Linked DNA regions of Homo sapiens: all the other regions are linked to region 1. The links are contacts of gene promoters, found by promoter capture Hi-C in blood cells and fetal thymus (Javierre and others, 2016). All regions are on one chromosome and are shown on one strand. Each heading gives the region's core, a stretch centred on a gene start or on the middle of the fragment in contact. The rest is flanking DNA. Distances are from core to core; before and after follow the strand shown.

Evidence for each region. Contacts are between HindIII fragments. The CHiCAGO score rates a contact against its expected background, and 5 or more counts as called.
Region 2: a contact is called between a fragment that was not itself captured here and the fragment with the promoter of RFC4 in region 1, in 1 of 17 cell types (naive CD8 T cells). The highest score is 5.7, in naive CD8 T cells.
Region 3: a fragment that was not itself captured here is called in contact with the fragment with the promoter of RFC4 in region 1 in 10 of 17 cell types (total CD8 T cells, naive CD4 T cells, non-activated CD4 T cells and 7 more); the score reaches 10.6 in total CD8 T cells.
Region 4: a fragment that was not itself captured here is called in contact with the fragment with the promoter of RFC4 in region 1 in 4 of 17 cell types (naive CD4 T cells, total CD8 T cells, total CD4 T cells and 1 more); the score reaches 6.3 in naive CD4 T cells.
Region 5: a contact is called between a fragment that was not itself captured here and the fragment with the promoter of RFC4 in region 1, in 4 of 17 cell types (naive CD8 T cells, total CD8 T cells, M1 macrophages and 1 more). The highest score is 6.3, in naive CD8 T cells.
Region 6: a fragment that was not itself captured here is called in contact with the fragment with the promoter of RFC4 in region 1 in 1 of 17 cell types (erythroblasts); the score reaches 7.5 in erythroblasts.

The regions. Positions count from the first base shown.
Region 1 is chr3:186,803,890-186,808,310 of GRCh38, reverse strand. It overlaps RFC4 (replication factor C subunit 4), which reads left to right and starts at 1,829. Exons shown (of 11, transcript NM_002916.5): 1 at 1,829-2,021; 2 at 3,587-3,728. The coding sequence starts at 3,598. RefSeq lists enhancers at 1,050-1,661, 1,662-2,273. The HindIII fragment of the contact is 2,364 bases long and covers 1,196-3,559 here.
Region 2 is chr3:187,046,176-187,050,596 of GRCh38, reverse strand. The region is part of intron 4 of ST6GAL1 (ST6 beta-galactoside alpha-2,6-sialyltransferase 1); the gene reads right to left. Among named protein-coding and RNA genes, the nearest start is that of RPL39L, 91 kb to the left of the region's middle. The HindIII fragment of the contact is 3,699 bases long and covers 142-3,840 here.
Region 3 is chr3:186,573,294-186,577,714 of GRCh38, reverse strand. It overlaps DNAJB11 (DnaJ heat shock protein family (Hsp40) member B11), which reads right to left. Exons shown (of 10, transcript NM_016306.6): 3 at 1,778-1,875; 4 at 1-47. Among named protein-coding and RNA genes, the nearest start is that of DNAJB11, 4.8 kb to the right of the region's middle. The HindIII fragment of the contact is 1,094 bases long and covers 1,607-2,700 here.
Region 4 is chr3:187,030,113-187,034,533 of GRCh38, reverse strand. The region is part of intron 2 of ST6GAL1 (ST6 beta-galactoside alpha-2,6-sialyltransferase 1); the gene reads right to left. Among named protein-coding and RNA genes, the nearest start is that of ST6GAL1, 100 kb to the right of the region's middle. The HindIII fragment of the contact is 672 bases long and covers 1,944-2,615 here.
Region 5 is chr3:186,594,824-186,599,244 of GRCh38, reverse strand. It overlaps the pseudogene PET100P1. Among named protein-coding and RNA genes, the nearest start is that of AHSG, 16 kb to the left of the region's middle. RefSeq lists an enhancer at 2,011-2,305. The HindIII fragment of the contact is 179 bases long and covers 2,134-2,312 here.
Region 6 is chr3:186,628,477-186,632,897 of GRCh38, reverse strand. No RefSeq gene overlaps it. Among named protein-coding and RNA genes, the nearest start is that of FETUB, 9.7 kb to the left of the region's middle. The HindIII fragment of the contact is 3,546 bases long and covers 192-3,737 here.

The DNA of each region.
Region 1 (4,421 bases), core at 580-3,079:
GGGAGTGAACCCTCACCAGCCACTGAATCTTATGGTGCCTTGATCTTGGACTTCCCAGCCACTAAAACTGTGAGAAATAAATTTATGATGTTTATAAGCCACCCAATCTATGGCTTATAAACATAGCAGCCAAAATGGACAAAGACCACTTATCCATCAGCTTGTCTGTTTTTTTGTTTGTTTGTTTTTGAGACGGAGTCTCGCTCTGTCACCAGGCTGGAATGCAATGGCGTGATCTCAGCTCACTGCAACCTCCACCTACCGTGTTCAAGCGATTCTCCTGCCTCAGCCTCCCAAGTAGGTGGGATTACAGGCACCTGCCATCATACCTGGCTAATTTTTGTATTTTTGTAGAGATGGAGTTTAACCATGTTGGCCAGGCTGGTCTTGAACTCCCGACCTCAGGTGATCCGCCCACCTCGGCCTCCCAAAGTGCTGTGATTACAGGCATGAGCCACCGTGCCCAGCCCAACTTGTCTGTTAAATGAGATCATAACATCCCCCTCTCTGTGGTTGTGCTGTTCCTTCAGGTAGCAAATGGATACCATCTATTTTCATAGATCTTGTTTTATCAACTGTATTGTGGTATAATTTACATACAATAAAATATACAAGCATTAAGTATACAGTTTGATAAGTTATGGTAATGTAAACCGGTGACCAGATAGATAACCTGTGTGTTTTTTATACTGTCCAGAGATTGTATCAGACTCTGTGGAAATTACAAAGTAGCATAAAGCATCCTTACTTTGGTTAAACCCTTGATTGGGTTAGGCCTGGGATGTAAGTTCTCACAGCCCCCTACTTCCTCTGCATAACCACACATCACATTGTCTGTCACTCTCCTAGTCTGTAAAGCTACTTGAGGGCATCTCGAGCGTTTTCCCTGCTGTATCTGCAGGCATCTAACACAGTGCGTGGACATTCTGTAAGCATTTGTTGCAAGATAAATGAAAAAAACGTACAAAGTTAACAATGGATATCATGCTGAGTTTGTGCCAAACAAAACAGTCATTTGAAGAAGACCCGGAACAACCTTATGGGTTAGTAATTAGTAAAGACCAGTAGAGAAGGTGGCCTTTGAGAAGGGTCAGGTTTCAATAGGATTAAGGAGCATTTCAGAGCTAAACCAAGTACTTGGAAGAGATAAAAGCAGTGGGCTCAGGCACCAGCCTAGCCCACTGTGCATGAAGCTTGGTGGGGCTAAACATGATTATCAGTCCTTTAACTTTTATTGAACGCCTTCACTTCCAGATTTCTAAGTGGGGCTCAGGAATTATAATAGATGTCCACAGCTGCATGGTCTTCTCTCTCCACAACACGCAGACACTATTAGAAGTAAAAGCCACGTGTCCTCAAGAGGGCAAGGCAAAGCATCTTCAGATGTCTCTGCCCTTAAAGCACACGCGTTCTGCTCTGCGACGAAGCAGGACAAGGAGGACAGGGACCTGCACCTCCGGAGGCCCGCACCTACGAAGATAGCGGGCTCGGGACCTTCGGTGGACCGGCAGGGTTCCAGAGGCCCGCGCGCCGCCGCCCCGCCCTCATTGCTGAGCCTGCCAGGTAAGCAGCCCCAGCGCCGTGCCCGCGCGACCTCTACTCCTTCCGGGAGGGTCGCGCTCACGTCTGAAGTGGGAGCAATGCACCGGGACAGGGACACCTCCTAGGCCATGCCTGTTCCAGTCCAGTTCTGCCTGAAAGTCCGGCTGGCTCATCACCTGCCTAAATAAAACCGTATACGGGCAAACTCCCTCCGCAAGCAGCGCGCCCCAGCACCGGAAGTGACGCGTTACGTGCCCGCGTATTCCTACCGGCGTATTCCCGCCCTGCTTTTCGCCCGCCGTTCCGTGGCGGGAACTGAGGCGACTGTGGGGACATCAGTGATCGTAAGTCTCCTGGGCCCGTTATTCTCAGATTAGGTGACGGAGCTAAGACTTCGAGACCATCTCGTCCTTTTTGTATCGCGGAAACCTGAGGAACGAGCCGGCGGCGGTGACCTGCACGAGAAGCCAGGCTAACTGGTAACCTGCTGGAGGAACTGCAAGCCCGCTTCGCCTTCCCCACTCCTGCCCTTGATGCCCCTTGTGAGGTCTTCCACCTCCTTCGGGGCCCCAGCCTAGTGGCCCTTTCATGCCCTGGCCGCGCCCTTTGGTGAAATGGTGGTTCCGGACAGCATCTTGCAGGCCCCGGCTTTGGGCTGTATTAATGTTTAACAGCCCGAGGCAGGGATGGACTAATCCAGTAACGTTATAAAAACCTTGGCTGCTAACAGATATTAAAAATTTATTTTATTGAGCATATCCCCATATGCCAAGCAAGGAACTATGTATTTGCATACATTCTTTTATTTAACTCAGTTGTCCTGTGGAATAGGCCTTAGCTCCTTTAACAGAAAAGGAAACCGGGTATCATAGATGGTAATTCATTCACCAAATATTACGGAGCATCTACCATGTACCAGGCACTGTTCTAGGCACCAGGGCATGTAGCAGTGAAAAAAATAGAATTAACCGGGGACTTTTCAGGCGAGCTAATGATGCTTTTTATCCCTGAAAACAGCCTGGAAGAATGTTTACCTGCATGTTAGAAATAGTTACCTTCTGGGTGGGATTTTGTATTACTTTTTTAAATCTCTCATGCTTTTATGCATTGTTTTGATTTCTTCAAGTGAGTGTGTTATGAGAAAAACAGCTGTTTCTATTTTAACAACAGAGTCCCCCACCTTCCCTTCCCCACAGAAAGTCTCTGAAGGTAGGTAAGCATTGACTCTGCCATGAAAATAGGTCCCTGGCCAGGCGAGATGGCTCACACCTGTAATCCCAGCACTTTGGGAGGCCGGGGCAGGAGGATTACTTGAGCCCAGGAGTTCCAGACCAGCCTAGGCAACATGGTGAAACCCTGTCTCTACCAAAAATTTAAAAAATTAGCCGGGGGTGGTGGCACGCACCTGTAGTCCTAGCTACTGGGGAGGCTGAAGTGGGAAGATGACAGGAGCCTGGGATGTCAAGGCTGCAGTGAACCATGATTCCGCCACTGCACTCCATCCTAGGCAAAAGAGTGAGACCCTGTCTCAAAAACAACAACAACAAAAAAAGGTCTTTGAGTTCTGACCCAAGGAAAGGAGTGAAGGTTCTCATTTGTGGTGCAAGCAGAGCACCTTTAATTGCCGAAGAGTCCATTTCAGGGTCTGAGCTAGAGCTAGGCCCATGACTGTGAAAGAAACCATGGAGGCCCATGTGGTTTGGTCATTAGCAACATCATATTTATCAATGCATTTGGAACTCATTAAACATTTTTGTGACATATGATCTTTGTTCTATAACTCCTGCACTAGAAATAGATTCTAAGTTCGTTAGGGACTTTGACCACTTTTCTGTTCTTGTAGCCCTCAGTACAGTGCATTCAGAGTGTCCTAGGTCATGGGGTGATGTCCTTTATTATGTAACATCTTTGCACAAGGCTAAGTTTATTTTCGGGCTGTACTTTCTCATAATGGTTCCCCACCACCACCCCCGCTTTCCTATGGTGCTGATTCGCAATAAAAGTTTCAATAAAAGCTTTTTTTTTCTGTCTTGCACCTGACCAGGGTGAAGTACCATGCAAGCATTTCTTAAAGGTACATCCATCAGTACTAAACCCCCGCTGACCAAGGATCGAGGAGTAGCTGCCAGTGCGGGAAGTAGCGGAGAGAACAAGAAAGCCAAACCCGTTCCCTGGGTGGAAAAATAGTAAGAACACTTGTGTCTTTGTTAAAATAATTCATAAATTATCTCTCTAACCAGTACTGATCACTTTTTTTTTTTTTTAACTTATGGAGGAATGCTTTGTTCTGTTTAGAAGTTGTCTTTGAAAAAAAATCACCCACTTATATAAGTCATAGAACCCTGGAACTAAAGTTACCTGAGAATAATCTAGTTTAACTCCCTTATTTTGTAGATAAACTGAGATCTCTACAAGCAGAGGCTTCCATTTTAGGGGCTGGGATACAGAAGTGAAGAAAACAAAAGTTTCTGTAAACTGGCTATAAATACTAGGTCAGGAGTTCTACTTAAATCCAAATATGTAATCTGTTCCTCCTTCTTCTCATTACAATAGGTGGAAAGTATTATTATTATTATTACTATTTTTGAGACGGAGTCTCACTCTGTTGCCCAGGCTGGCGTGCAGTGGCATGGTCTCGACTCACTGCAACCTCCACCTCCTGGGTTCAGGTGATTATCCTGCCTCAGCCTCCCAAATAGTAGGGATTACAGGTGCCCACCACCACACCTGGCTAATTTTTTGTATTTTTAGTAGAGACGGGGTTTCACCATGTTGGTCAGGTCGATCGCAAACTCCTGACCTCAAGTGATCCACCTGCCTTGGCTTCCCAAAGTGCTGGGATTACATGCATGAGCCACCGCGCCCAGCCCTGGAAATTC
Region 2 (4,421 bases), core at 742-3,241, 240 kb before region 1:
TTCCTTCCTTCCCTCCCTCCTTCCTTCCCTCCCTCCCTCTCTCTCTCTCTCTCTCTCTCTCTTTCTTTGTAAGCCATTGTCAGAAACAATGTACTAAATCCAGTCAAAATCAAACAGGCCATCTTGAAAAACCTAAAAGCTTCCTGGGCTAGCTCCTTGTCTTTGCAACTGTTTAAGCAGTGTTTGGAAGACTTGGAAAAGTTTCTCTACCCCACGTTGACCTATCTGATGAAGGAGGGAACTGAAGACTTTAAGGAGCCATCCAAATCCTGTGATCCTATGAGAACTTCTTTCAATCTTACTCGGTCAAGCAAGTTTGGGGCTCACCACTGAAATCTACACGGGATCTGGGGGTCAGCTGAATCCTCTATTGTCCTATTCAGGTTTGTTTTGGATCATTCTTTATCCACACAGGATTTGGGGAAGTGAGGGCATTTGACTGAACACAAGATGATTTAGAAAGAGGATATCCACAGAATTAAGGATGAAAGCCTCTCTCTTTATTTCAGTTCCAATGTATGTACTAAACCTCAGGAACACAGAAACATCATTCATGAAAACAACACAACCCTATCCTCAATCCTAGGGCAAAATTTCATCAAAATGGTTTGAAAATTATCTGAGAAGGGCACAGTCCAAACTGTTATCATCTTACAGGGCAGGTACACTGAAGTGCACATAGGGCAGGAGGTATATCTTTACACAACTCAGAATTACAACACATTTTGTCAGAATCAGTCACTGGTTCGAAAGGGATTAGTAGTAATTGCATGAGAAACACAGATCCATCAGAAACTTCAGTTAGTCAACTTTTCCATTTCACAGATGAATAAATTATTGGTGAGAATCCCAGTAGAAAAGAGATGAGAAGCTCCAATGGAGTAATTGAGAGATTCATAAAAGGACTACTTACCAAGTTGGGGTAGAGTTTAAAGAAATCAACACGGAATAGGCTAAAGCCCCAGGGTTGATGACTGCAGGGTGTCATTACCACCCCAGGTCTACTGTGGCCTGATGAGCGGAGACCCTGAGCTGAGGAGGGACACCTGTCGGGAGCTGTTGCCTTTAGGAGAGGAACACAGCTATTGCCAACCTCCGGGCAAGAAGGAGCCTGAGGGAGTCAATATCCCAACCTGGTTCTGCCCCTTCCCTTGGATCTCATAGAACTGAAGGGAAAAGGGACAGAGCAGGACCAAGACTGGGACGGCCTCCTGGCAGGATCTGAGACCTTCAGTCAAGAGAAAGATACAGCTTGAGTTTACTCTGCAAGGCGAAACATGGCGGAATAGGTGCCCTGACCTTAGTCTTCTTCTCAGCTTTAATGCCACTGCTTCTCCTGGCCAGTCCCAGAGAAAATCCAGAGAGTGAGAAATGCCAATTAACGCAGTTCAAAATTTTAATTTCTCAGCTGGGCGCAGTAGCTCACGCCTGTAATCCCAGTACTTTGGGAGGCCGAGGCGGGTGGATCACCTGAAGTCAGGAGTTCGACATCAGCCTGACCAACATGGTGAAACCCCATCTCTACTAAATATACAAAAATTAGCTGGGCGTGGTGGCACGCACCTGTAATCCTAGCTACTCTGGAGGCTGAGGCAGGAGAATCGCTTGAACCCAGGAGGCGGGGGTTAGCGTGAGCCGAGATTGTGCCACTGCACTCCAGCCTGGGCAACAGAACAAGACTCATTCTCAAAAAAAAAAAAAAAAAAAAAAAAAAAATTCAATTTCTCAGGGACAGAGCCAGATGGAAAAGGGTGAGAGTGGGATTTGGAGGTGCCACTGGAGAACATCCAGCACAGAAGGCTTAGGTTAGAACAGATGCTTGATGTTGACCATAAGAAAGGAGAATTGTTTTGTTCAGTCAACAAATACTGATTGAGCACCTACTCTATGCCAGGCACAGTTTTAGACACGGGAGACGACGCCTGTGAGCAACAAAGACAAGGTCCATGCCCTCAGAGATATTACATTCTACTGCACGGACATAGACAGTAAAGACGGACAACAACCTACATATAAGATAATTTCGGATTGTGACAAACACTGTGACACTAACAAGCTGAGCTGTGTGCCAGAGACACTGAGGGAATTTCCTTCATAGAGTGATGATTCAGGGAATGCCTTGGAGCTGAGACCCAAAGGATGGCCAGCCTTGGGAAGGGTTCAGAGAAGTCCACCAGTCAGAGGATGCAGCAAGTGTCAGGACCACAATGAGGGCAGGGACTTGACTGTAGACAAGGAGTGAGGGGAAGAAAAATCAAAGATACAGTTACAGAGGTTGGCAGGAACCAGATCATACACGGACATGGGGGCCCAGGTATGAAGTTTGGACGTGATTCTAAGAAAAAAGCCAATCAGGCTGGGCACGGTGGCTCACACCTGTAATCCCAGCACTTTGGGAGGCCAAGGTGGGCAGATCACGAGGTCAGGAGATCGAGACCATCCTGGCTAACACAGTGAAACCTCGTCTCTACTAAAAATACAAAAAAATTAGCCGAGTATGGTGGCAGGCGCCTGTAATCCCAGCTACTCGGGAGGCTGAGGTAGGAGAATGGTGTGAACCCAGGAGGTGGAGCTTGCAGTGAGCCAAGATCACGCCACTGCACTCCAGCCTGGGCAACAGAGCAAGACTCTGTCTCAAAAAAAAAAAAAAGAAAGGAAAAGAAAAAAGCCAATCAAAGGAGAAAACTTTTTTGAGGAGATGGATATTCTAATTACCCAATCTGATCATTGCGCATTGTATGCATGTACCAAAATATCACATGTACCCCATAAATATGTACAATTATTATATATCAAATTTTTAAAAAGAAAACTTTAAACTGACTTGGGTACTTAAAGAGAAAAAAATCCTGTTTGTCAAACCTCCCTGCTAATTGAAAGTTGAACTTTCAAACTCAAATAGGCCTCTAAGAAATCACCAAGAGAAATCCACAACTACTGAGATCCCAGCAAACAAGCCTAGCGAGGGGGAAAGGCTGCAGAAAAAAGAAACTACCACCTCTCTGTAACTTAGAATTAGAGCTCAGAAAAAGAGGCAAATTAGGAGAAGAAAAAATAAATGCATCACTGTATTCAGATTATACAATCACACGCTTAGAAAATTCAACAGAATCAGCTCAAGTTAGTAAATTCATAAATACATCAAAATCCACTGCCTCTAGGTGTAGTTAACTCTAAATAGCTAGAAATTATTATGAAAGAAATTTTATCACAATTTATCACCAAACGCTTTTATATTTTCAAGTTAGCCTAATACATCCTACAACCATTTATGGAAAATTACATTCTGAGTCCGGTTGAAGAAAACAGACATACTATAGATCAGAGTTAAAAAAAAAAAAAACTATGACTTGGCCGGGCGCGGTGGCTCACACCTGTAATCCCAGCACTTTGGGAGGCCGAGGTGGGCGGATCATGAGATCAGGAGATCGAGACCATCCTGGCTAACACGGTGAAACCCTGTCTCTACTAAAAATACAAAAAATTAGCCAGGCGTGGTGGCAGGCACCTGTAGTCCCAGCTACTCGGGAGGCTGAGGCAGGAGAATGGCATGAACCTGGGAGGCGGAGCTTGCAGTGAGCCGAGATCATGCCACTGCACTCCAGCCTGGGCAACAGAGCAAGACTCCGTCAAAAACAAAACAAAACACTATGACTTGAAGGACAAATCTGGTGCATCCCTCATTTTGTAAATAAAGTTTTGTTGGAACATAGCCAGGCCTGTTCATTTACTACTATCTATTGTTACTTCTGCAGTACAACAGCAGAGTTGAGTAGTTGTGACAGACATCATGGCCCTCAAAGCCAAAACTATTTACTATCCGGCCTTTTAAGAAAAGCTTGCTGACCCCTGATATAACTGATCATGTTCTCCAAGCTACTCAGTTCACAGGTGTCTTCTCAGTCCTTATTCTGCCCAAGAATATGTCCCACCTCTGCAGACTTTGATACCAACAGCCAACATCCCTCAAACTCCATCCCCCTTTGCCTTCCATTGTATGGTGCACACCTAGTTCTCCTCTAGCCGGTCTCTGACCCTTCTGACTTTTCCCTGTTCTTTTCTTTGTCCTTTAAATGTAAATCTTTTTCTAGATTTTCTAATTGGTCTTCTTCCCTGGATTATAACCATTATCTCACCTTGATACAAATGACTTGTAAATCTATCTCGATATCTGATCCTTCTCTAGAATTAAGTACTCAACAGCATAGATATCTACCCAGGGAAATCCACACACACTTCAGTCTCAGAACATCCAAAGTGGAATCTGCGTTCCTCTGGAAGCATGCTCCCCTTGGTAAGATACAGCCTGCTCCCAGGCTAGACATCCTGGCTCCTGCCTCTCACTCAAGATCATTTCCAGCTAGATAGTAAGTTCTGCCTCTTACTTCATGAGCCCTCTCAGGTAAGGTCCTTTCTCTTCA
Region 3 (4,421 bases), core at 904-3,403, 230 kb after region 1:
GCTGACGAGGGGTTCCTCCAAACATGAAACCAAAATCCCCAAAGAAGCTAAAGATAAGTGCAAAATCATCAGGAAAAAAAAAAAAATCAAGACTCTATGTTTCACAATTAACTCATTTTCTTTACGTTGATAAACTATTGTTTCTATCAATGCATTGTGCAAAACTACAAGGTATTTTTTAATACAATGGAGTCAACTATCATACATAATTTTAAATTTATATACTATCAACCATGTTGTAACTATACGGTCCCTTACTACAAAAAAATCCACTTTTTAACAAAATATAGCCCATACATATAGTACAGTACATACACACACAGTATGCCAATGAATTCAATGTTGGACCCAACCAATGAAATAATAATCTTTCAATATTGGGAAAAATCTGAATATGGTGGACTTATTGAGAAAGAGTATAGTATACATAAACTTGTGTAATGCTAAATGTAATGGTTAATTTAAGAAATTTTTATCGGTAATTTTAACATATGTAGTGTTCTCTTTACATGCTTTTTAGAAGCTAACTTGTTGAAAGAAGCTACTGCTCTACACAAAAATCTTGAGTATGTAATTAAATAAGCTAAAAAAGCATCAGCCTTAGTAAAATCCTAGTGCTTAAGGAGAAGGAAGTTCTAGCCTCTATAAGACCCAAACTAATTTTTGTAAGTAACAAGAGTAACTTGAGATTAACAAAAAAGGTGACCTTCAATCCTACAGGTGGTTTAATCTAATGTTAATTTTTGGTGTTATTAAGAAGCCTTGTATATTAGCATAGCGAAGATGATAACTATATAACTCCCTCTCCCACCAACCAACTCAGGTGAATGAATTCCCTGAATCTTAAATAAAGGCAAGGGGAAAGAACAGGGTGGGGGCTGGGGAAGCTGTTTCTCTTTCTGGTATTCCCTAGGGATCACTTCAGCCAGCCAAATTGATCCTGGCGGGGGGAAAAGATGTCCTAATCATGTTACTCACACATCTTTACAGACCCTAAAAATCTACTCCCCCACCCCAGGCCCCTCAACCAAGCACTAAATGGTGGTAACTACTATATGCAACAGTGATTCTTACTTCTTTTGGGGAAGGGTTCACAGAACCCTTTGAGAATCTGAAGAAAACAATGAACTCTCCCCATAAAAATGCAGATTCGAACATCTTTTTGTTTATAATTTCAGACCTGAAACCCCAGATTAAAGTCTCTTAGTATATGTAATCATCAGGGAATGTGGAAATTCAAATGCTCAATAAAGAGAGGTTCAAAGAGTGAGGAAGAAAGTGTTTATTATTCCAACCACCCAGCACTCCCAGAAAGCAAGAGATAAAGGTCCTCTACCCTAATTCCTTCCCCTAATGCTGGTTATTATAATCACCCTCACTTGTTGATAGCACGAAAGAGAGGCAGCTCTGGGTATGGGAGCAGGAATTTTTCTATCTCTGCTAACAATAATTTTGCTCATTAAGTGGTTTGCAGATTGCAAGGTAGCAAGTAGGCAAGGATGAACTGATTTCCAACACATGTCCCCGTGAATTGTCTGCACTGATTTAACTGATATGGTTGGCTAGATGGAATGTCCTTTCAGTGCCATCAGTCTTTCCTGAAGCTTTGTGAAAATAGAAGACTATCTTCCCACAGGGAGGACAATAATTGATCTTTGGATCAGCTAAATTGTACTGTTCATCAAAAGTTTCTGAACTAGGGAATGAGAATAATTCTTTAATCGCTAAGTGACCCTCTCTCAGACACTAACACTTTGCAGATGGGTAAATTACTCACTGTGAAAAAATGTCTCCATGGGAGCTCTGATGACCATCTTTTAATCCTTCTTCACCATAAGTATCGTACTGTTTCCGTTTCTCACTATCTGACAGAACCTGGGGATAAAAGCCAGTGGAGGAAAAGATCATGAGTTGGTAATATCCAGTTAAGGCACAGTCATATTTATGTTTGTTTTTACTTTGACAGTGGGTCTAAAATTTTAATAGAATGCAGTTTCCATTATGTACTGTATTAAGGCATATTTACAAAGTTATTTTCTCTAAGACTAAATTCTTTGATGCACTGTTCATTCCACATTGCTCCATTCATGTTTTTAATTTAAAGTTCTCAAAACTCGTGTAGTCACTAAAAAATAATACCTGAGATTAGCAATGCAGCTGTGAAGGTCAGGGTGGTGACAGGAAAGAGTTAAGACGGATTCCTCAGGTTTACTTCCCATGCAGTTTGACTTTGGTGCTTATGCTGTTAACCACTATACTGCCTTCAGAACAACTTGGCCCCACAGGTCTATAACACCCCCTACCCAAAACACACACACACAGACACACACACACACACACACACACGCGCGCGCGCGCGCATGTATTAGGAGATTGTCAAGTCAAGGAAATCAAATGACAGGCCCTCCAGAGAGGCCTACACTGATATCTTTTCATCCTCCTTTTTTCATTTTTTGGTATATGCAGAAATCCATTTGTGGAAGAATTTTGCCTGCCATATATATATATGTTTAAGTTTGTAATGTCCTGAGTTTGAAATGCAGAAAGAGTAGTAAGTAAAAATACTCTATGAAGGTTATTCAAGGTCAATTTCATTGCTTGAAATAATTCTTGAAGTTTTAAGTTTCAGAGAACTACATACACAATCATGACTATATGCTTTCTCTCTGTATATTAAAGAATGTAACAACAAAATAAGCTTCCATCCTTTTCAAAATTTGCCTTCAACATGCAAAAAAAAACTTTCTCTTTTATTTAGAGCAATCTGATATATATGCACATATATACTTGTGAAAATTAAATGGCTTTAAAATCTTCCTTTGATATTTATAAACTCCTACTTAGACAAGAGTCTGAAGGAGAGAGTTATTTCAAAACCACACTCATGGTGGCCCAGAAAAAGAGAGGTTCAAAGTAGACGGGGCTTGTTGACTTAAAAGAAAGGCATATTCACACAGGACACATTTTTGGCTTAGGGCCCAAATGAGGTGTAAGGAGTCATGGCAAAAATGTATTAACATTTAAGATATCCTTGAAAGGATAAATAGAAATTGAGTATACAAGAGAGTGAACATTCTTAAAAGCAAAGGCAAATGGGTTATTCCAGAAGTGACCACAGTACTTGATTACAGCCACTATGAAAGAAAAAGGGAGAGGAAAGCATGTTTTCACAAGTATCTTTAGAAAATAGGTACTTTGGGGAAGCAGAAATGGGCACAATTAACTTGAAAAAAAAAAAAACCCTTATTATTAACTGGATCTCCAATATTTTCACTTTTAGTCTACTTCTCTGATCTGATCTTCACAAATAAATGAACCCTGCATTTGAGACTATAAAAAACACCATTTCAAAACCCCCAAAGACTAGTTTTAAGTCAGTTTCTTTTTAGACATCAGAGGCTTCTGTAATAACCCCCTAAAAACTACTCTTGAAGTCATTATCATTTACTTCCTCCTCACTTTTCTTCCATCAAGGAATGCAATTTTATTCTATGGTCTTGGAAACTATTTTAAAAGAAAAAAGGTTTTTAGTTGATTGGCCAACCAATACACAGATTCTCAAGTAATTAAAATGCCAGCAGTGATCCTAGCTCTGTAGAGAAAACAAATTTGTATTCACAAAAGATTCTTCATAACTGTACTCGGATTCTAATTTGTGAACACTAATTTACCTAAGACTAAAGGCAATCAAGCTTGAATGATAAAAAGAAAACAGAAATTTGAACTAGTGGCTAAAAGGATTGTTATAGTTAAATAAGCCACGATTTCATGACTGACCTTTGTATAGCCTGCCTAGGTCATTGATAAAGAACGTGAAGATTCTTTAGAGAGCATGGTAAATTCAGCTTCCCTAGAAAATGTTTTTGAGTATTAGGTTCCTAGCAAACAAGGGGACTATTCATGGAAAATACAGTGCAAAATATAGAATGCATATTATCAACAAGAAACAAAATATTACATATAATTTAGGATGGGCCATTAACCTTCCCAAGTTTATTGATGTGCCTCAGGTTAAGAATTTCTGTCCCTTGGCCAGGCACGGTGGCTCATGCCTGTAATCCCAGCACTTTGGGAAGCCGAGGCGGGTGGATCATGAGGTCAGGAGATCGAGACCATCCTGGGTAACACAGTGAAACCCTGTCTCTACTAAAAATACAAAAAATTAGCTGGGCATGGTGGTGCACAGCTGTAGTCCCAGCTACTCAGGAGGCTGAGGCAGGAGAATGGCGTAAAACCCAGGAGGCGGAGCTTGCAGTGAGCCGAGATCGTGCCACTCTACTCCAGCTTGGCAGACAGAGCGAGACTCTGTCTCAAAAAAAAATAAAAAAGAATTTCTGCCCCATAGGATCCCTGAAGGTGTTGAAAGATGAAAGGACCCCAACAGCTCTTGGGTTCACCTGGGTATAACTCACTGTTTCAAT
Region 4 (4,421 bases), core at 1,030-3,529, 230 kb before region 1:
TGCTGGATTCGGTATGCTAGTGTTTTGTTGAGGATTTTTGCATTTATTTTCATCAGGGATATTGGCCTGCGGTTTTCTTTTTTTACTGTGTCTTTGCCAGGTTTTGGTATCAGGGTAATGCTGGCTTCATAGAATGAGTTAGAGAGGGATCTGTCTGCCTCACTTTTTTGGAATAATTTCAGTAGGACTGGTACCAGCTCTTTTTTGTATGTCTGATAGAATTTGGCTGTGAATTTATCTGGTCCAGGGCTTTTTTTGGTGGTAAGTTTTTTATTACTGACTCAATTTCAGAACTTGATATTGGTCTGTTCAGGTTTCAATTTCTTCCTGATTCAATCTTGAAAGATTGTGAGTTTCCAGGAATTTGTCCATTTCTTCTAGATTTTCTACTTTGTGTGAACAGAGGTATTAATAGTCTCCAAAGATCTTTCATATTTCTGTGGGATTAGTTGTAATGTCATATTTGTCATTTCTGGTTGTGATTATTTGTATCTTCTCTCTTTTCTTCTTTGTTAATCTAGCTAATGGTTTACCAAACTTGTTTATCCTTTCAAAGAACCAACTTTTGGTTCTGTTGATTCTTTGTATGGATTTTTGAGTCTCAATTTTGTTCAGTTTTGCTCTGGATTTTAGTTATTTTTTTCTTTTTCTGCCAGCTTTGGGGTAAATTTTTTTTCTAGTTCCTCTGGGTGCAATATTAGGTTGTTAATTTGAGATCTTTCTAACTTTTTGAAGTAGATGTTAAGCACTACAAACTTTCCTAATAACACTGCCAAAAATAAAAATTTTTAATGTCGAGCTTATTTATCAAGGTGAAAATCTGTTAACAACTAAGCATCCAGCAATAAGGAAATAAGAAAAGCATGGTATAGCCACCTGAAATAATTTATATAATTGTGTATGAATTTATATAGTAATAGGGGAGAAAATACTTAAAATCTTAAAATGAAAAAAGCAAAACAGAAAATGTTACCTGTATACTCAGATGGTGACTTAAAAGATATGTATATCCAACTGTCTAGAAAAAATGTAAATGGTTGAGACTTGAATACCATTGACGGATAAACTGATGAAAGATTAATTCTTATCAGTTTGAATTCCTTTATTATTTTATTCTTTGTTTTTGAGATGGTGTCTCTCTCTGTCGGCCCAGGCAGAAGTGGTGCAATCTTGGCTCACTGCAAGCTCCACCCCCGAGGTTCATGAGATTCTCCTGCCTCAGCCTCCCCAGTAGCTGGGTAATATAGGCACCGGCCACCACGCCCAGCTAATACTTGTTTTTAGTAGAGATGGGGTTTCACCATGTTGGCCAGGCTGGTCTTCAACTCCTGACCTCAGGTGATCTACCCACTTCGGCCTCCCAAAGTGCTAGGATTACAGGCGTGAGCCCCCACGCCTAGCCAACTTCCTTTATTATTTTTATTATGTTACTTGAATAATTAAGGCAAAACTCTTGGGGGCAATACTAAAAAATACACTTCAACCTTGTGTATCAACTTGGTGCACAATATTAACCTGGCTGCAAGGCCTGTCCTAGGAGATCTAGCATTAACAGAACTAAGAGGAAGCCATATGGACATACTTGACTTCACCCCATGAACCAAGAGAAAATCCTCTGTTGAAGGCTAGGAATTCAGGTTGGGAGAACCCCAGCTCTTCATGACCAGGAGGAAGGCAGGCAGGCAAACCCTAGGTATGACTACCAGGGAAAAAGTGAGAGGTGCCACTCTGCCCTGTGTCAAAACATTTGGGGCTCTCCTCATCAGCTCAAAGAAGGACGGTTTTCTGGGCAGCATCCTTGGAAGAGTCAGAAAATTTCTCTGATAGTTATCCCTCTGACATTTTCACAGCATGAATTTCCCTTGTGGCATGAGTGTTTGTAATTATGCAGGCATTCATTTAGTATTTGATTAGTCTGTCTCCTTCCACTAAAAATATAAGCTTCATAAATAGGAATCTTGTCAACCTTCTTCTCTATTATTTCCAGGGAGTATCTCTAGACACTAGATGAATGTCTAGCACTTAATAAGCTCTCAGTATGCATTTGTTGAATGAATAAATGGGTGACGGGTTCACAGCTCTTACTCCTGGCATCACTCATGGAAGAGGCTCTTTCTTAGCCCCCTGTAGAAAACACTGTGGGCAGTCACCAGACTTTTGGATGATACCTCTTGCCTGTGAATGCTGGTTTGCTGCCATCCTCCAGCTGGCAGCCAGAACATGAAACTTTTTGTTTGATACAGCCCACAGACAACAGAAAAGTACATCAATCCCAGCTCTTCCTCCCTTACATCAACTGCATCTGCTCAAAAAACCTTGCCCTCTAAGAAGATAAAAATCACTCTCCATTTTTGATTTTCAAAAATCAACCAATTGAAACAAAAGTGGTGCAACTATCTAGATTTATCATAGGTGATGAGGGCTTTCCAAAAATAGTCCCTGCTGCTGATGAGATAGCAGCACTACTGATCTTCAACCAGCTGTAGAAGTGATAACAGAACCCTCAACTCTCTGGGTGAGAAACTTTAGCAATCCTGGCAATAATAGCTACCATTTATTTAGCACTAGCTATGTGCCAAGCACTGACTATAGCTTAGGGATGAACAATACAAGCTTTGGAATCAGATTTATCAAGACAAGAGCCCAAACTGCCTTTCACCAGCTACCTGACTTTGAGCAAGTTACTCAACCCCTTAAGACCCAAGATTTAAGACATCTTTATCTATAAAATAGAAATAGTAATAATAACAAGTCCTACCTCATAGTGTGATTTACAGAATCAAGTAAAATAATCCACTCGGCCAGGTACTGTGGCTCATGCCTGTAATCCCAGCACCTTGGGAGGCTGAGGCAGGTGGATGACTTGAAGTCAGAAGCCCGTGACCAGCCTGACCAACATGGTGAAAACCCGTCTCTACTAAAAATACAAAACTAGCGGGGCGTGGTGACGTGTGTCTGTAATCTTAGTTACTCGGGAGGCTGATGTAGGAGAATCACTTGAACCCGGGAGGTGGAGGTTGCAGTGAGCCGAGATCACACCACTGCACTGCAGCCTGGGCAACAGAGCGAGACTCCATCTCAAAAAAAAAAAAAGATAATCCACTCAAAGGGATTACAACAGTCACCATCCCTTCCTCTGTGGATACCATTACTACCCCCATTTTTACAAACAGGGAAACTGAGACAGGGAAGATAAATAATTTGCCCAGATTAAGTAGAATGGCACTCTAAATGTCGAAGACTCTTTCATGCCTTTGCAGCTCTGCACAAGAAGTTCTTCAGCAAAGTGTGGTTTCCTGTGCTGTTCCCATGGGGCCATGCCCACTCAGCTTCCAACACCAGCTCAAGTGCTCCTTGACTCTCAAGCTTCCTTGGCCTCACAGAGATGATCAGCATAACTCCATGGTGCCTATTCTTCCCCTCATCAAACTATGTGACATTTATCTGTTTGCAGATCTGTCCCAACCAGATTGAGAGCTCCTGGGCCACAACTAGGAAATGTTCAGTCATGTCTGAATGCAAGAATGAAGCTAGCTCCTGACACCATCCCTCCCCACTGCCCACTGCCTTCAATTGCTACAGCCACTCCCTCCCACCTACCCACCCATCACCTTCAGTTGCCAGAATCACCTTGACGGCACCATCATTGCAAATGTTCATTTTGCCTGTTGGATACACTGAATGACAGGGAATTTACTACCGCCCCAGACCACACACAACTGTGTGAGTAGCTCTGCCTCTTAGAAATATATTAAAGTTAATGAAAATCAACTTCCCTGTAAAAATAAATCCAGTGTTGCAGCTGGGCACGGTGGCTCACACCTGTAATCCCAGCACTTTGGGAGGCCAAGGCGGGCAGATCACTTGAGGTTAGGAGTTCGAGACCAGCCTAGCCAACACGGTGAAACCTCATCTTTCCTAAAAATACAAAAATTAGCTGGGTGTGGTGGCGGGCGCCTGTAATCCCAGCTACTTGAGAGGCTGAGGCAGGAGGATCGCTTGAATCCGGGAGGCGGAGGTTGAAGTGAGCTGAGATTGCACCACTGCACTCCAGCCTGGACAACAGAGCAAGACTCTGTCTAAAAAATAAAATAAAAAATGAATAACTATAAACCCAGTGTTTTAAGCTCTACTCACTGGAGCCACATAGACTCAGATGGTGAACCTCTAACACTTGTTGCCTCTAGCAAGTGTTAGACTGAACCTCTAACACATGCTATTTGTCAGGCTCAAAGTGAAGAGCATCACATGCATCAATGCATGTCATCCTCACAGAGACCCTGTGCAGACAGCGCTACCTATGACCCCACTTACCTGGCTGCAGCCATCTTCTCCCCCACCCAAAATACCGTGCTTCGTTGCCTGAATATTTTAGCTCCAACACTGTTTCTATCATAACTCCTTGTGATATTAATATCCAC
Region 5 (4,421 bases), core at 974-3,473, 210 kb after region 1:
GTGGATGGGGATGGGGCCTAGGGCACCCTAATTTCCGTCAGCACTTCCCTTCCTTTGCTATGAATGACTGGTGTTTTCTCAGTTGAACATAAAATGCTATGTGAGCGCCACTTTGTGACATGTCAGTCCACCTCACCACCGGCCAGGCTACCTGAGCTCCACCCAAGTAGAAATTCTAACCCACCAGCAGCTACGAGCCTAAGTTCTGTCTCTGCCCTGCCACTCTCTGATGGTGTCTCTAACACACACACACACACACACACACACACACACACATGCCACATGTACTTTTCCACTTACAGGCCAGGCTGTTTTGGGGTGCACAAGGGCAGAGCCAGGGGGCCTACTACTCTGGAAACAGGGCTATAACCATGAGGTTGTCAGACTTTGATTTTTTGCAATTGCCTCAATTGTTTAGTTTTTTCCTTAGCCGAGGCATTTTGTTAAATACTAAAATAAGTGTGTGACTTAAAGTTCCTATCATTCTAACACTTTCCATTCAGATGCATTCATCAACAAGGAATGAAGTCACCTTTCAGAGCACACGTGTCAGGTCTGGAGCAGCTACAACTTACTGCTGTCCTGAGAGCACAGGGCCTGCTTGGCACAGCTCCTCTACTATGGTCCGCTTCTCTTGCTATAAACAGCGGTGGCCAGGGTCTGGTTCCGTGCCATACATAGAGGAGGTGGTGATGACATTTTCAAAGAAGAATGTGTGTGAAGGAGGAGGAAGGGGAGGTGGGAGAAGGTGATGAAAACCATGCTGCAGGAGTGGAGAAAACCAGAACCAGGGCAGGCGCTGTGGCTCATGCCTATAATCCCAGCACTTTGGGAGGCCAAGACGGGCAGATGACAAGGTCAGGAGTTCGAGACCAGCCTGGCCAACATGATGAAACCCCCATCTCTACAAAAAATACAAAAATTAGCCAGGCGTGGAGGTGTGTGCCTGGAATCCCAGCAATTGAGCAATTCTCATGCCTCAGCCTCCTAAGTAGCTGGGATTACAGGAGGCAGAGGTTGCAGTGAGCCGAGATCGTGCCATTGCACTCCAGCTTGGGTGACGAAGGGGAAACTCTTTCTCAAAAGAAAAAAAAAAAGAAAACCAGGCTGGGGCACAGTGGCTCACACCTGTAATCTCAGCAGCTTGGGAGGCTGAGGTTGGCAGATCACTCAAGGTCAGGAGTTTGAGACCAGCCTGGCCAACATGGTGAAACCCCGTCTCTACTAAAAATACAAAAAAGTACCCAGGCATGGTGGCGCACGCCTGTAATCCCAGCTACTTGGGAGGCTGAGGCAAGAGAATCATTTGAACCTGGGAGGCGGAGGTTGCAGTGAGCTGAGATCGCGCCACTGCACTTTAGCCTGGAGAACAAGAGTGAAACTCTGTTTTGAAAAAGAAAGAAGAAAGAAAGAGAGAGGGAAAGAAAGAGAAAGAAAGAAGGGAAGGAGCGAGGGAGGGAGGGAAGGAAGGAAGGAAAAAGAAAGGAAGGAAGGGAAAGGAGGGAAGGAGAGAAGGAAGGAAGGAAGGAAAAAAGAAAGAAGAAAGGAAGGAAGGAAGGAAGAGAAAGAAAGAGAAAGAAAGAAAGAAAGAAAGAAAGAAAGAAAGAAAGAAAGAAAGAAAGAAAGAAAGAAAGAAAGAAAACCAGACTCATCATCAGCAAACCCCAGATGAGGATGCCTAATAGATTGGAAGGCACCTTCTTAAGCTGTGTGTTGGGAGGAGTCTGAGCTCAGGGATCTGCTGCGGAGGACAGGCTGGAGCACGGCCTGCACCCCACCCTGCACTGGCTGGACTCCTCTGTGTAGGAGCTGGGCTCTGGGTATCCCTGGTTTCCCAGTGCCTCCTGAAGTTCATGCACATAGTGGCTGTTTAATAAATGTTTAAGCAATGAAGTATATTGTTTTAATCTTATTTTTCCCATTGAAGAAACCTACAATTGCTCCTGATGTTTTCTCTTTTTTTTTTTTTTTTTTGAATAACAAGGAACTGAGTATATGTATATTTCATCAGGGGAGGGGCTAGGACTCCCACTTGGAGGCCTCAGGAGTTCTGCTGGGCGTCGCGAAGGAGCTTCTCCTCCCGCCGCTTCCGCTTCCGTAACCTCTCTTTGAATTCCTCTAACTCTTGAAGCTTCTCAGGTGGCCACAGCTCCCTCTTGCGCTGTATGACATCATCCTCAAACCACTCGGCCTGATTGGAAACCCAGAACATAGCCACAGGGAAAGTGAGGTAGATTATCATCCGAAATATCTCCAGCTTCACCCCCATCTCGTTTCTCCCCCTGATTGTTTCTTTATACCAAATGAAAGCTTTCACGAGTGAGCTCTCCCTCTCTCCTTTTGATGTAATTGTGCCCACTTCATCTCTACACCAGAGATCATGGGCTTTTCTCTGGCTGCCAAGAGTACAGAGAGCCCCTCCCTGAGTCATATGGGGAGGGGTAGGCATGAATAGGCCCCGGGCAGCACTCGGAAAGGGGAGTTAATATGACACTAGAATGACCTGGAAGCTGGACAGCAACCAATCTGTTTCCCTGCATGACTCTCCATAGTTGATAGAATGTGCACCGGATCCATCCTTTCCACAGCAGGCAGTGCCCTTTCATGCAAATAGAGGAACATTTTAAAAAATGTTCTTTGTGGCAGGGTGCGGTGGCTCACGCCTGTAATCCCAGCACTTTGGGAGGCCGAGGCGGGCGGATCAGGAGGTCAGGAGATCGAGACCATCCTAGCTAACACAGTGAAACCCCGTCGCTACTAAAAAATACAAAAAAAAATTAGCCAGGCGTGGTGGCGGGCACCTGTAGTCCCAGCTACACGGGAGGCTGAGGCAGGAGAATGGCATGAACCCGGGAGGTGGAGCTTGCAGTGAGCCGAGATCACGCCACTGCACTCCAGCCTGGGCCACAGAGCGAGACTCCGTCTCAAAAAAAAAAAAAAAAAAAGATGTTTTTTGCTGGTTCTGGGCTTTCCTTCTTGAGGGTTTTTGCAAACTGTGCCTTCAAGCTCAGACTGTGACAGGGACTCTCAGACCAGCCAGTGGGCTGTTGCCAGCTGTCAGGAGTCCAAGTCAGCCAAAAATCTGAAATATCACTGTTTATAGCAAACAACTAATATATTTTATTATCTAAATTGTAAAAATCCCTTAATATTTACCTTAAGGAGATTCATAAAATTAATAACTACACAACAAACAAAAAGAGACAAACAAAAATTTAAAAAATAATAGAGCAAACAGGCTGAGCACGGTGGCTCCTGCCTGTAATCGCAGCCCTTTGGAAGGCCGAGGCGGGAGGATCGCTTCAGCCCAGGAGTTCAATACCAGCCTGGGCAACATAGTGAGATCCACATCTCTATATAAAAACATTAATAAACAGTATTTTAAAAATAATAATAAATTTTTAAAGGAATACAGCAAACAAAAGTGGGAGAATTTTGCCAACATACGATTAGAAAAAAAAAATTTAAAGATATTTACAACCTCGTCTCTACAAAAAATATGAAAATTAGTCAGGCATGGTGGCATGCACCTGTGGTCCCAGCTACTTGGGAGGCTGAGATGGGTGGATGGCTTGAGCTTGGGAGGTCAAGGCTGCAGTGAGCCATGACTGTGCCACTGCAGTCCAGCCTGGGTGACAGAGTGAGACTCTGTCAAAATGTATATATAATATATATATTTATATATAACATATGATGTTTATATTATATATATTATATACAATGTTTATATGATATATATTTTATATAATATACAATGTTTATATTATATATATTTATATATAAATTTTATATTACATATTTATATTTTATATATAATATATATTTATTTATAAATATATTATATATATTTTTCCCCAGAGGCCTTTAAGCCCATAACCATGTAAGTAGCCTATCTTCTTAGTATGTATAAGTGTTTAACATTATTCATTAAAATAAACAGAAAATGGAAATGAAAGCCAATTATAGTTATGCTTATGTTTTTATCATATAGTCAGCACATGCAATAATTTATCTTTAATATAAAGGAAGAGGGTGCATATACAACTTGTACCAAACAAAATTATTTTCTCCCTGTCCCCTGCGTAAATGTGCAATGTAGAATGTTGTTTTCAGTGTGTGCCAATCTGTGAACCAGCTTGGGAAGGCTCTGCCTTGGTCTGGCCCTCCCCTGGCACGTGTTCACCCGGGTGACAGTTGTGCTATGGTGCAGCCCGACCTGGTCTCCATGCACAGCTCTCATGAGTTCCTCCTTCATGAGACAGTCTCAGAACTCAGCCTAGCTCTAGCCCCTCCTGTGCCTTCAGCCATCACTCTGCACTTGCTCATAACAGTTCTGAATGACGTGAGCTGCATGGGCTTCCATGCAAGCAGCACCTTTCATGCTGGGGCTTAGAAGGATCAACTGTCCAGGTTTGTCTGGG
Region 6 (4,421 bases), core at 715-3,214, 180 kb after region 1:
CCTATAGTCCCAGCTACTTGGTAGGCGGAGGCAGGAGAATAGCTTGAACCTGCAAGGCGGAGATTGCAGTGAACCAAGATCATGCCACTGCCTTCCAGCCTGGGCAACAGAGTGGGAGTCCATCTCAAAAATAACATAAAATAAAATAAAATAAAATAAATTAAAAAAAGGCAGAGAGAGGCTGTGAAGCTTGACTTTCTGGGCTCCTCCATGGACTGGTGGATCAGGAGTTTAGGGGGTAAGAAGAAAGTTCCTTCATTCAAGTAATGTCGTAAGTTCTTCTCCAGTGAGTGAAGTAACTGCTCTGTGATAGGCACTATGCTAGTTGTTGGGGATAAAAAATTAAAAAGCTAGCTGGCACAGTGGCTCATGCTTGTAATCCCAGCAATTTGTGGGGCTGAGTTGGGAGGATTGTTTTAACCCAGGAGTTCTAGGTCAGCCTGGGCAAAATAGCAAGACCCCATCTCTTAAAAAATTTTTAAAAATTGGCCAGGCATGATGGCATGCACCTGTAGACCCAGCTACTCGGGAGGCTGAGGCAGGAGTATCACTTGAGCACAGGATGTCAAAGCTGCAGTGGGCCGTGATTGTGCCACTGCACTCCAGCCTGGTGACAGAGCGAGACCTTGTCTCAAAAAGATAATAAATAAATAAATGAATAAATAAGTGCCTAGTTTTCAATCCTCTGCATTGTAACAATTGAAGAATCCTTTGCTCGAGTGTAAGATAACAGACACCACAGGGCTGCCAAGGACTGGTCAGTGACAACAGGGAGGACAGCCTCCCTGATGAGAACATGGCAACACTCTTTGATATGAAATCTCGCATGATATTTGAGATATCTGGCTTGTAATGTAAAATTTGTGACAATTATTGCCTTCTATATGTTTTAGCAGGTAACAACATAATTGTTCAAGTGTTCTTTTTTCTGGAGTTAAGATAGTTAATTTTGAGTAAACCAGGCCCCAAATATTATGGGTAAATTTTTTTCTACTGTAATTCTTTATAGCTTGATATTATGTGTGTGTGCACGTGTGTGTGTGTGTGTGTGTGTGTGTGTGTGTGTGTGTGTGAGAGAGAGAGCTAGAAAGTGGAAGGGAAGAGGTGAGAAGAGGCATGGCGAGGGAATGACAAGATTAAGCGTGGAATAGTAGTGAGGCAAAAGCCTGAGAGTCTTCTGTGCTGTAATGATTTGCATAGCATACTAAAAGTACTGGGGAATCACTGAAGGTTTTAAGAACTAGATTCTCAGAAAGATCATTCCAGGTAGCAGCGATGAAAGGCCCCAGCTTCTTCAGGATACCCTTATCACCAAGGCCATAGGCAACAAAAACAGATGTGGGTGACGGTCCATCCTTGTAGGGTCTCAGCTCATGCTTGTGGGTTCCAATCTGCTGTCAATTCCCCCTACGTCATATCCATCTTCTCTTTCTGAACACCTGCCCTGCGGACTTCAGGCTCCAGCATCAGATACAGAGACAGGCTTACAGGGACTGTTTATCCAGCCCCCACAATTGCATAAGCCCTGTGGACTTCAGGCTCCAGCATCAGATACAGAGACAGCCTTACAGGGACTGTTTATCCAGCCCCCACAATTGCATAAGCCAGTTCCCTATAATACCTCCCTGGTTATGCTAAACCTGGTTGAACCCTGAGTGGTACAGTTGTGAATGAGAAAATCCTGTCAGAGGAGACACTGCTGAAAAGATGGAAGTGACAGTGGGAACAGAGAGGAAGGACTGGATCCGAGATATAATGAGGATGTAGGAAATCAAGACCTGGTGACTCATAAAATATGGCAGCAAGAAAGGGTGAGGGATCAAGAATGACTCCAGAGTTTTCAGGTTATTTGACCGAGTCAAAGAGTTGAGCTACCATTACAGGAATAGAGCAGATTTGGAAGGGGGAGGGGATGGGGACCTGAGTTTGAGGCTGTTAAATTTGAAGAATCTGAGCGATCTCTAAGTGGAGACTCATAATATGTGTTGGGTATACGGACTCAAGGTTTAAAGGGGATGAGCAAGATCATCATTAGCCAGAGGTGGAGGCTAAAATCTTGGGAGAGGGTGAGCTCATTCTGGGAGGGCAGGTAAGGCAATGAGATGAGAATGAGGTGGAGCTCTGAGAAAACTAATATTTAAGGAGGAAGCAGAGGAAGAGGAGCTAAAAGAAAAAGAGTCTGAGATTGAAAGGCTGCAGAGAAGAAAGACAGGCTCCATAGACCAGGAAGGATTGCATTCAAAAAGGAAAGGCGTGGTCAGAGGGTCAGATGCCATGGAGAGCTTGAATAAAAAAGGGCTAAACATGTATCCATTTGATCCAGAAGTTCCCCCGTGATCTTTGTTGGTAGCAGTTTCAGAGGAGTGGTGGGGATAGAAGCCAGATTACTGTGAAAAAAAAAATGAATAGGAGTTCAGGAAGTGGAGACAAGCAAGTATAGACCATTGTTCATAAAATCTTGTTTATAAATAGAAGGAAAACAAACATTAAAGAGAAGAATACAAGGTTGAGGAAAGACCTTTAAAAAAATAAATAGAAGGCCAGGAGCAGTGGTTCACACCTGTAATCCCAGCAGTCTGGGAGGCCAAGGCAGGCAGATCATTTGAGGTCAGGAGTTGAAGACCAGCCTGGCCAACATGGCTAAACCCCATCTCTACTAAAAATACAAAAAACCCCACAAAAATTAGCTGGGTGTGCTGGTGCACACCTGTAATCCAAGCTACTTGGGAGGCTGAGACAGGAGAATCGCTTGAACCCAGGAGACAGAGGTTGCAGTGAGCTGAGATGGCACCACTGCACTCCAGCCTGGGCGACAGAGTGAGACTCTGTCTCAAAATAAAAAATAAGCTGGGTGTGGTGGTTCACGCCTGTAATCCTAGCATTTTGGGAGGCTGAGGTGGGTGGATTCGCTGAGCTCAGGAGTTGGAGACCAGCCTGGGCAACATGGTGAAACCCCATTTCTACTAAAATACAAAAAACTAGCTGGGCGTGGTGGTGCATGCCTGTAATTCCAGCTACTAGGGAGGCTAAGGCAGGAGAATTGCTTGAACCAGGGAGGTAGAGGCTGCAGTGAGCCGAGATCACACCATTGCACTCCAGCCTGGGCGACAGAGCAAGACTCTCAAAAAATAAAATAAAATAAATTTTTTTGAGATGGAGTCTAGACAGAATAAACTGAAGTTACAAGAGTGGATAAGATTATCAATGGGAGCATATAAAGTGAGAAAAATAAAGGTGAAAATCTCAGGAACCCTAATATTTTAGAGGTAACTGGAAGAGATGGAGGCAGAAAGAGTTCCAAGTAGGAGGTAGGCAATAACATCAAACATTGGCGAGAGACCAAATAGCATAAGAAGGAAAAACAAATTACTGGGTCAAAGGTTTTGACAATAAGAAGGTCAACAATGACCTTTGCCAGAATAATCTTACTACACTGGTGTGTATATGAACCAAGGTATAATGGATTGAGATGTGATGAAGAGATGATAAGTTATCTCTTAATAACTGAGACAGTTATACGTTGGTATTTTGAGGGGAGAGAAATGATAAGGCCAAGTGATAGCAAAGGTTCAGTGAGATGGGCACACTCAGGTTTTGGAAGTGTAGATTGGCAAAATCTGTTTGTAAAGCACTTTGACAATACATGTCAAGAGTCGTAAGATATTCATATTATTTTGGAATATTAGTTATATTTCTGAGACTCTACCTTGGAAAGTATTCACACATATAGGAAAGCTTTTATGCATAATAATATTTATTGATATGCCATTTACAAGCACGAAAAAGTGTCCATCTAAATGTCCAACAACAGGAGAATGGTTAAGTAAACTTCCATTTAGGTAACAGTGAAAAGGAGGCTTAACACGACTAACTTCATTTTTCTCCCAATCTCCCTGCAACTCCATCCAAAATGATATCTTTTAGGTTAACTGCTTTTGCTTATCTCTGCACACAGGCCAACCTAACTATGGGAGGCATTTAGTTGGCAGTTTAACTTTTTTTTTTTTTTCTTTTTTGAGACTGAATTTCGCTCTTGTCGCCCTGGCTGGAGTACAATGGCATGATCTCGGTTCACTGCAACCTCCGCCTCCTGGGTTCAAGCGATTCTCCTGCCTCAGCCTCCTAAGTAGCTGGGATTACAGGCACCTGCCACCACCCCTGGCTAATTTTTGTGTTTTCAGTAGAGACAGGGTTTCACCATGTTGGCCAGGCTGGCATCAAACTCCCGGCCTCAAGTGATCCACCTGCCTTGACTTCCCAAAGTGCTGGGATTACAGGTGTGAACCACCACACCCAGCCTACAGTTTAACATTAAAGCAAGGATGATAATAGTCTCTTCCCAAAACTAACTCCCAAGGAGAAAAGAAGGGGGTACACACAAGTAACGATGTCATGTTAAAGATTTATAAGAGCACTGTGAC